3 separate regions of the Homo sapiens genome follow, and all the other regions are linked to region 2. Evidence: promoter capture Hi-C in human tissues and cell types (Jung and others, 2019). All regions are on one chromosome and are shown on one strand. The core of a region is centred on a gene start or on the middle of the fragment in contact, and the rest is flanking DNA. Distances in the headings are between cores, read along the strand shown. Region 1 has its middle 37 kb from the start of ZSCAN5A. Region 2 holds the start of ZSCAN5B (zinc finger and SCAN domain containing 5B). Region 3 holds the start of LINC01864 (long intergenic non-protein coding RNA 1864).

What was found. Contacts are between HindIII fragments. The study calls those that stand out against the background at their distance.
Region 1: a fragment that was not itself captured here is called in contact with the fragment with the promoter of ZSCAN5B in region 2 in 2 of the 25 tissues and cell types used here (H1 embryonic stem cells and pancreas).
Region 3: a contact is called between a fragment that was not itself captured here and the fragment with the promoter of ZSCAN5B in region 2, in 4 of the 25 tissues and cell types used here (liver, neural progenitor cells, spleen and 1 more).

The regions. Positions count from the first base shown.
Region 1 is chr19:56,350,239-56,353,451 of GRCh38, reverse strand. It overlaps a transcript of ZSCAN5A not described here. Among named protein-coding and RNA genes, the nearest start is that of ZSCAN5A, 37 kb to the right of the region's middle. The HindIII fragment of the contact is 3,268 bases long and covers 32-3,213 here.
Region 2 is chr19:56,195,566-56,199,128 of GRCh38, reverse strand. It overlaps ZSCAN5B (zinc finger and SCAN domain containing 5B), which reads left to right and starts at 1,346. Exons shown (of 5, transcript NM_001080456.5): 1 at 1,346-1,395. The HindIII fragment of the contact is 13,117 bases long and covers 1-3,563 here.
Region 3 is chr19:56,065,564-56,068,737 of GRCh38, reverse strand. It overlaps LINC01864 (long intergenic non-protein coding RNA 1864), which reads right to left and starts at 2,054. Exons shown (of 4, transcript NR_110741.1): 1 at 1,763-2,054. The HindIII fragment of the contact is 3,019 bases long and covers 1-2,806 here.

The sequences.
Region 1 (3,213 bases), core at 416-2,915, 150 kb before region 2:
CAGCCAACATGGAGGGAGGGAACTGGAAGAAATTATGTTAAGTGAAATAAGCTCAGCCCAGTAAAACAATGGCACCAAATAGTCTTAATGCACAGAATAGACCATTGAACCACTGCACACATGCACTTGCTAAATATTACAATATTTTCACTCCCATTTTCCCACCTTTCATATTCTTTCTCTAGTTACACTGTAGTATCCGTTACACTCGATAATCCCAGCTTCCCTGTATGTGCTTCTCCACCAGCGATCTCTGCCTCAATGCATGACACCAACACATGTCTACTATTCTTTGCCTGAAACCTCAGGCATATGTATGTGCCTTCTCCTCATCCATGCGGTTCTCAGCTGGGGTAAACTGTGTCCACCTCAAGGGAAAATTAACAGTGACTGCAGACATTTTGAGTTATCACACTTGAGTATGCTACTGACTCCAGTGGGCAGGGGCCAGGGATGCAGCTAAACATCCTACAATGCACAGGACAGCCCTCTTCCCCCTGAAAATGTATTATGTGGCCCACAATGTCTGTAGTGTAATAGATCGAAACACTGCCATCTGGCAAAGACCTTCTCCTCGACCAGACTTGACTTGGGCTTCCCTGAGTCCTCTTCCTGACTAGGCCTGGACTTTGGACATCTGTGTTGAAACTGTGTTGCACCCAGTTTCAACAAGGGTAATGAGAATCCCCCCATCCTTGATACCTGATCAGATTTCCCATGTTCCACTCTTAATGTCTAAATCTTTGGCCTGCCTTTAGCAAGGATTCTGCTCCTGATACCTAATCAAGTTGTTCTTTGTAATTTCCCACCCACTGACCGCCTTACTTTGATAATTGTCTACAAAAAACCAACTATCATTGCTATATTCAGAGTTGGGTCTCTCTCCCCTGTTGCAATTGTCTTGAATATTCTTCCTCACCATTTACCCAAGTGTCAGAATATTTTTTCTTTTACATCTAACAGTCTCACATTCACGCTCAGCATCTAAGGATAAATGTTTATTTTTTCACCGAAATTCTTTCAATAATCAGTCCCTTCTAACCATCCTGCATGATCACTTAAATCTGCCTTAGCTTCTGTGGGATCTCATGTCTCTCTCTGTCTCTACAGTGCCCCAGTAATCACATTCATTTGCATTATGTTTAATTGTCTGGTTTAATCCGTCTCTCTGAGTAGAAGCTTTGTTAAAACACCACACTATCGGCGCCTGTAGTCCCAGCTACTTGGGAGGCTGAGGCAGGAGAATGGCGTGAATCCAGGAGGCGGAGCTTGCAGTGAGCTGAGATCGTGCCACTGCACTCCAGCCTGGGTGACAGAGCGAGATTCCGTCTCAAAAACAAAGAAACAAACAAACAAAAAAACCCCACACTATCCACCAAAGCATACCCAAGCGCAGGGCATAAAGAAGGCACTCCATCAGTATCTTCACCGCATCCCTTCCTGAGTTTCGGGTCCCACTTCCCTACCTGACTTTGGGTAAGAAAGTGTAATGACATCTTCATCCCGCAACACAATTTCATCTTGCAAACGTCTCAGGTCTGTAAAATTATTGCTGGGAAAAGGAATCCCTTCAATCCAGATAGATCCACCAGCCATCTAAAGAAACACCACAGTCTTCCCAGGTTCGTATTCGCTGCACCTGTGCAATCTTAGCGGCACCACTTTTCTTGTTCTGCGACAGGTTAAGATGCAAAGGATGGAGACATTGGGACAGAGCAGCCCAAGTTCATTTTGATACAGCTCCGATGACTGGACGATTACCAGGCTTTTTGGTCTGGTGCTGATAGGATTAACGACATGGACACATGTGGAGTAGTTTTAAGGAGTGAAAAGTTTAATAGCAAGTAAGAAGGAAGAAAGAAGAGAACAGCTCCCCCGTACTGAGACATGGGAAAGGAACAGAGATAGACCCTGTGCGCAACAGAAAGACAGTCCCTTATATCTGGAGGCTGGAGGAGGCAGTATCTGGTTTGCATAGGGCCCAAAGGATTGGCTTGACCAGGTGTGTTATTCATGTAGCCTGGGAGAAACCAGGCCCTCCCGCCATAGCCTTTTAATATGCAAATGTGGGTTGCCATGATGGTTTGAACACATGGTGTTACTTGGAGGTGGCCTTCACACTTTGCACAGGTGGTAACAAGGAGAAGACGGTGGGAATCACCATGTTGAGTGGACCCAGTTTCTAGTGGCCAGCATTTGCATATCAAAGCTTGTCAGCCCGGCCCTTGAAGCCGCCTTTTTGGTTAGAAAAGAGATTGCTTGGTTAGAAAAGAGATTTCTTATTACAGGAAAATTTTCACCAAGAACCTTTACCCTTACTGTATGCCTAAAATGATTTCTTAATAACTCCTGTAATATCCCCCCCTCAAAGAGAAGTAAACCTAACTGCTGTTAGGGGGTGTTAGATGATGATTCTTTCTGGGTACTGTCTGCTGAAAAGGGGCGTGTGGTTGGGGGGGGACAGCAATTGGGCCTTCTCCTGTGGTTGATCTGAGGTTCTCAGAAGAATGGCATGTCTGTGTGTGGCTCAGCTCACAGCACCATTTAAAGTTTAATTGCTTCTATTAAACTTTATTTAATGTTTTATTAAATAAAACATTATTTAATAAAATATTAAAATATTAAACTTTATTTGATTTAAGGTGAAAAAATATAAATTTTACAAGAAGATTTAAAATGTAGGGTTAGGATACAATTATTAAAATTACCACCGTTAGTGGGGGGCCCTGTTAGACCATAACTGACAGTAGAGTTTGACACCTTTTAGTTACACCAATGGATTGCAATACTGGCTTGCCTCCACTAGATGTCGGTGTACATTACCAGAAACGTTAATATAGCGGTAACTTTTTCCTAGAGAAAAGCGGACATTTCCCCCTTAATCTGCCGTTAGAGAATAACTTTAGGCCTAGGCCATTTTTACAACTTGCAATATGATTGGGAGAAAGACATTATTGGGTGGCTAAAATAACTTTAGCGTTAATTTTGACAATTCCTTTCCTTTAATTACTAAATTCTTTTATGACTTTTATAAACCTTCTTACAACACCTTTACACTTTTTGATTTGTCCTAAACATCCTTTCTTTAAACAACCGGTTATTTCCCTTTAGTACAAGAATTTACCATACAAAATCCTTCCGTACATAAAATCTCTTCCTTTATAACCTTTTCATAGTGTGTATTATATTACCAACCTTTAGTAAAAAGTCTTT
Region 2 (3,563 bases), core at 97-2,596:
TCACCGTGTTAGCCAGGGTGGTCTCGATCTCCTGACCTCGTGATCCGCCCGCCTCGGCCTCCCAAAGTGCTGGGATTACAGGCGTGAGCCTCCGCGCCCGGCCATTAATTCCATTCTTAACTCCAACCCATTGTCAACACCTCAGTGGTTAAGAAGGGAAAATATCACAAAGTATGAGAAAATGCACCAGAAAATAATTGTCACAACTGTTTGGCAAAATGACCTTGTATCGAGCACTTTATTGACCCAGTCTTATTGCATCTTCAAAACAACACATCAGGAAGGTTCTAGTCACAAGAAGTTTGAAGTTCCCAGAGTGAAGCGGCTTAAGATTTTCCAAGGATTTAAACCAGAATCAGTGTAAAATTAACAGCCCTCCAATTTGTCCTAAAGGTTAGACGAGAAGGTTTCCTCTGAAATTAAAATGAATGAGTCACTACTTGAATGGATTAGTGTCATCCAACTGATGGTGTGAACTTCCCAAATTGTAATCTAATCCTGCCTAGCACTTAATTATCATTCCACATTAACTCCATGATCCACACAGTAAAATTCACACCCACCGTTAAGGCTTTTCTTGCTTGAGAGCCCTAACTGAGGGGGCTGAGAACTAGGGAACCCCGTAGGACCCTCAGTGTATCTATAAACCACCCTATCACCGTCCTGGAATGAATGCAGAGTGGGGACCATGTGCCTTTCTCTGGTTCCCACTGCTTTTATATAAGGCTGATATCAAATCAGTGATTTAGTTTAGTTTGAACAAAGCTTTCACATGCCAATTCCAAGATTTTGAAAAAAATAAAAAAGTAAAAAATTATCACAAACATTCATTACATATCAACGAGTGTCCACAATTTTCAACATCTTGGAATTCGCGTGTGAAAGCTTCGCTCAAATGAGATTAAAAATGAGATTAAATCACTGGTTTGATATTAATCAACCAACTCTATTTTGAATTTTTCTTTTTTTTTTCTTTTTCCGTTTTGTTTTAATAAGCGAAGTCAACCAGCTCTTAACACGTCCTTTACTTGTTAGGATATTACTGTCTGTGGCATGAGGGGACCCAAAGTGGTTAAAACTTGCAGATCTATATTTTCTGAGGCCTCCACATACTTCAGCAATATGACAACTCAGTAGAGCGGGAAAACCTGTATTATTTGCACAGTAGGCACGTTTAATACATTAATTTCCTGTGGGTGGGGTTTCAGTGGGAAATGTAATCAACGCCGATTACGAAAATGGACTCTGTGGCCCTAAACCAATCACGGCGCGGCGCAGGGAACCGGAAACGCGGCCTGGAGTCCCGCTTCTCCATAAATAGACGCAGTTCAGCTCCAGGCCGGTTGGAGAGCGCATCCCAGACCGAGAAGGTCGGAGGCAGAAGCCGGGAAGGAGGTGAGTGTCCAGCGGCGATGGCTGTGGGGTTTCGGAGCTGGCATGCGGGGGGTTGGTTTCAGAAAGTTTGGGTTTATTTTCTCATGCATTTATTTTCTCGGAGACTTTGTGAAGGCAGCGGGTCTCCTTTGCACCCCATGATTAACTCTGACTGGCGATGAAGTGCTTCTGTAAACTAGGAATAATATTAACTTTCTCGGTCGGGCCCAGTGGCGCACGCCTGTAATCCCAGCTACTCTGGAGGCCGAGGTGGGCAGATCACGGGATCAGGAGTTCAAGACCAGTCTGACCAACATGGTGAAACCCCGACTCTAACAAAAATACAAAAATTAGCCGGGCGTGGTGGCGGGCGCCCGTAATACCCGCTATTCAGGAGACTGAGTCAGGAGAGTCGTTTGAACCCAGGAGGCAGAGGTTAGGGTAATACCCGCTATTCGGGAGACTGAGTCAGGAGAGTCATTTGAACCCAGGAGGCAGAGGTTGCAGTGAGCCGAGGTCGCGCCATTGCACTCCAGCCTGGGTAACAAAGCAAAACTCCGTCTCAAAAAAAAAAAAAGGAGAAAAATAAAGTAATAATGTTAACTTTCTCATCATGGTTAGGTTTTGTTTCATTTTATTTTTCAGAGACGGGGTCTCGCTCATTTCCCAGGCTGGCCTGGAACTCCCAGGCTCAAGCTATGTGCCCTCCTCGGCCTCCACCTAGCTGGGGCTGCAGGAGCACACCACCACACCGCCCGAGTGCATTTTTTTATTTACTATAGAGACGTGGTCTCGCTGCTTTGCCCAGTCTGGTCTCGAACTCCTCGGCTCAAGCAATCTGCCCGCCTCAGCCTCGATCTCCGCTTTCTGAGCAGGGGCGCTTAGGGAACCTGGCGGGAAAACCTCTTTAATTCCCAGAATTTCAGGCTGCCTTTTCTCATATCTGTATGCTTTTAAAAAATGTATCGATTTACTTAATAAATAAACAAAACGAGATGGCCGCTGGATGTGTCTCCCAGGCTGGAGCACAGTGGCACAATCGCGGTTCACTGCTGGGCTGAAGTGATCCTGCCACCTCCGCCTCCCAGAGCACTGGGGTGACAGGAGTGAGCCATCGCACCAGGCCTAATTTACTTTCAAATTGAGAAATATAAATATATAATGGTGTATATGTCCGGTGCACAGCATAGTGTGTCAAGGTGTGTACGCATTGTGCAACGGCTAAATCGAGCAAACTGCCATAGGCTCTACCTCACTGTCTTATCATTTTTGGACAACACTTGAAATCGACTCCCTTAGCAATTTCCAAGTATACGGTACATTGCTGTGAACTATAGTCACCATGCTGTGCAGTAGACCTATTTAACTTTATTTCTTTTATTTTTTTAAAAAAAAGTTTTAATGGCCAGGTGCGGTGGCTCACACCTGTAATCCCAGCACTCTGGGAGGCCGAGGCATAGGGATCACTTGAGTTCAGGAGTTTGAGACCAGCCTGGCCTACATGGCGAGACCCCATCTCTACTAAAAATACAAAATTTAGCCGAGAGGGGTGGCTCACGCCTATAATCCCAGCTACTCGGGAGGCTGAGGCAGGAGAATCGCTTGAACCCGGGAGGCAGAGGTGGCAGTGAGCCCAGATCGGCCACTGCACTGCAGCCTGGGGGATAGAGTGAGATTCTGTCTCAAAAAATAAATCAATAAAACGAAATAAAAATAAAAATAATTTTAAGTAGGCCAGGTATAGTGGCTCACACGTAATCCCAGAATTTTGGGAAGCAGAGGCAGGAGGATCACTTGGACCCAAGAAGTCAAGGCTGCAGCAAGCCAGGATGCACCACTGCATTCCAGCCTGGGTGACAGAGCAAGACACTGCTGCAAGTTTAAAAACAAAAATAGATAACTTTAAAAAAAAATTCCACTTTTATTTTAGGTTCGGTGGGTGCCTGTGCAGATTTGTTACGTGAGTGTACTGAGTGATGCTGAGGTTTTGGGTATCACTGAACCTGTCACCCAGGATATGAGGATAGTACCCAGTAGGTAGTTTTTCCACCTTCCCACCGTCTGTCACTTCAGAGCTTCACTGTTTTGGAGTCCACGTCCTGATTTCCTTTCCTCTGTGTACCTGCCCCGGAGCGGGATTGCCGGCTCATGCAGTTGTTGGACTTTCAATTTTCTGAGGAGCTTCTATA
Region 3 (3,174 bases), core at 48-2,547, 130 kb after region 2:
TTTTAATACAGATGGGGTTTCACCACATTGGCCAGGCTGATCTTGAACTCCTGACCTCAAGTGACCCACCCACCTTGGCCTCCCAAATTGCTGGGATTATAGGCGTGAGCCACCACACCCTGCCAGGTTTCTAAGATATTTTCAGGCTAATGAAAACTTCACAAGCCCTGGATACTGTGCTGATAACACCCCCTGCATAAAAGTACAGCCCTGAGCTCTCTCCACTCTGCAAACCACATCTTCCACTTTCACTAATAAATTTCCAGCCTAATTTCCTGCCTTTTAACTGCTTTATTTCCTCAGGAATTCTGAATCAGATCTCAGATGGAGGCAACTATATTGGTTCATCATTTTTTGCTTTTTAAAAAATAATTTACAAACCATGGAATTCACCCATTTTAAGGTGTACAATTAAATAATGCTTTAGTATATTCACATAGTTGTACGTCTATCACTCCAAAAGGAAACCCCGTGCCAGGAAGAGTCACTCATTCCCTGCTCCTCTCCCAGCCCTGGGCAAACTCTCATCTTGTGTCTCTGTGGATTTCCCTCTTCTGGTCATTTCATATCAATGGAATCATACAAGTGGCCTTTTGTATCTGGCTTCTTTACAGTGGATAATGTTTATGAGGTTGATCCATGTTGTAGCACGTATCGCTACTATATTCCTTTATTCCTTTTTTTTTTAAATTGAGATGGAGTCTTACTTTGTTGCCCAGGCTGGAGTGCAGTGGTGCCATCTCGGCTCACTGCAACCTCCGCCTCCTGGGTTCAAGTGATTCTCCTGCCTCAGCCTCCTGCGTACCTGGGATTACAGGTACACGCTATTACCCTGGGCTAATTTTTGTATTTTTAGTAGAGACGAGGTTTCACTATGTTGGCCAGGCTGGACTTGAACCCCTGACCTCAGGTGACCTGCCTGCTGCAGCCTCCCAAAGTGCTAGAAGTACAGGAATGAGCCACTGCACCTGTTGTTTTTTTTTTTTTTTTAATGAGACAGGGTTTCACTCTGTCACCCAAGCTGGAGACTGCAGTGGTACAATCTCGGTTCACTGCAGCCTTGACCTCCCAGGCTCAAGTGATCCTCCCACCTCAGCCTCCCAACGGGCTGAGACTATAGGCTTGTACCGCCATACCTATTTAATTTTTAGTATTTCTAGTAGTGACGGGGTTTCGCCATGTTGCACAGGCTGGTCTCAAATTCCTGGGTTCAAGTGAGCCTCCCAACTCAGCCTCCCTAAGTGCTGGGATTACAGGCATGAACCACTGTACCCAGCCTGCATTCTTTTTTTCATGGCTGAATAATATTTCATTGTGTGGATAGACCACATTTTGTTTACCCATTCATCTGCTGATAGACACGTGGGTTGTCTGCACCTTTTGGCTGTTGTGAACAAGGATACCTACTTCATCTCTTACCTTGGTCACAGGCGGCCTACAGGTCATTAGGCAGCTTAAAGACTGGCTGTTCTTCAAACGCTAGCTCCTGGTCCAGTCAGCTGCAATGGAGGCCAGCTGCTTGGGTCATTCATCCAGGACCCCGGCTCAGAATGGCTTTGCACTCAGTATAGTGACTCACAGTCATCTTGAAATTCTTAATTTTTGAACAAAGCACCCACATTTTCATTTTACACCTGGGCCTCCAGATAATCTTGGTTGATTCCATTTTGACAATGGGGAATAAAGCTAAAGAACAAACCTACATTCTTGGGTGTCTGCTAAGCAGCTGTCACCTCCAATAGAACCAACAAGTGGCTGATACCTTCTGAGCAGGGCTGACACGGATTTCCTGTGAGCCAGTCGCGTCCGGCGAGGGGAAGGGGAGGCCGCTGGGTGTGCTGGTGAGGGAGGGCTCCCTGCTTCCCGTGGACCAGCGGGTCTCAGGCTGGTGCCCCGGGTAACATCCGGCTGTGTCTGAAGACTTTCTTGGTTGTCACAACTGCGGGAGGGAAGGCACCTGGCAGGTAAAAGCAGGGACGTCACTGAACACCCTACAGCCCACAGGCGGGACCCCGATGTGGAAGTGGCCGGTCCCACCGTCAGCAGTGCCTGCGGTGAGAAAATCCACAGTGGGGATGCGGGGAGGAGCCCGCCCTGCTCCCGGGAGGGTCTCAGGGAAGATGACGCTCTGCTGCCACCCAGCGGCCATCAGGGGAAACTCAACCAGGGAGCTGGCGTCCCGCGGGGTTCACTGACCCTGGAATTGCCTTCCCAGGAAGCTTCTACGCAGTGATCTCAGGTGGACGTTCTGTGCCATGCAGCTCAAAGCATCAGAGTTTGTGCGGCTCCACACACACCCCAGCTACAGCGTGGCTGGCAGGTGGAGGTGAATTCTCTATCGTTTGACTCACGGGTGAGGAAAGGGTCCTTCCTCATAGAGATAAGAGCCCAGATCAGCAGGGAGACAGCGCTCCCACCTGTCCTACCCACGATGTGATGCACCAGGCAGCGGGGGCCTGGGACTCCCCACGGTTGCCCTCCAGGACCGGGTCCGTTGCCTTCCTGATGCTCTTCCCTCCCCGTGGTACAAATGTTAAAAACAAACAACAAGACAAAACGAAAAACTATGTAGGAAGGGTACATTTTCATGGTATGTCATGTCCCAAACTTGACGAAAAACCAGCAGTGCAGAAAAAAGTTTTTCTCAGACCTCAAAGATAGCTAGTCTAGAAAAATAGAATAGTCCTAGTCTCTTGCGAACCTGCCATTTTAGCTGTGAGAACAGCTGCAATTCATGCATTTGTCCTTCATTAGAAGGTAATACATTTTAGGAGAACAGGGATCTTTGTCCTGCACTATCAGCCTGAGGGCAGCGGCCAGCACATAGGGTTATAGGGTTTATACAGACTCATCATTACTTCATCCTCTACGTTTAGGAATTTAGAATAAGAAACAAGGAGTTGGGTAGAAATCAAGGTATCATCCCTATTATTCAAAGCTCTGAGGCCAGGCTGGGTATGGTCACTCACACCTGTAATCCCAGTGCTTTGGGAGGATAAGGCGGGTGGATCAACTGAGGTCAGGAGTTCGAGACCAGCCTGGCCAACATGGAGAAACCCCATCGCTACTAAAAATACAAAAACTAGCCAGGCGTGGTGGCGGGTACCTGTAGTCCCCACTACTCAGGAGGCTGAGGCATGAGAATTGCTTGAACCCGGGAGGCGGAGGTTGCAG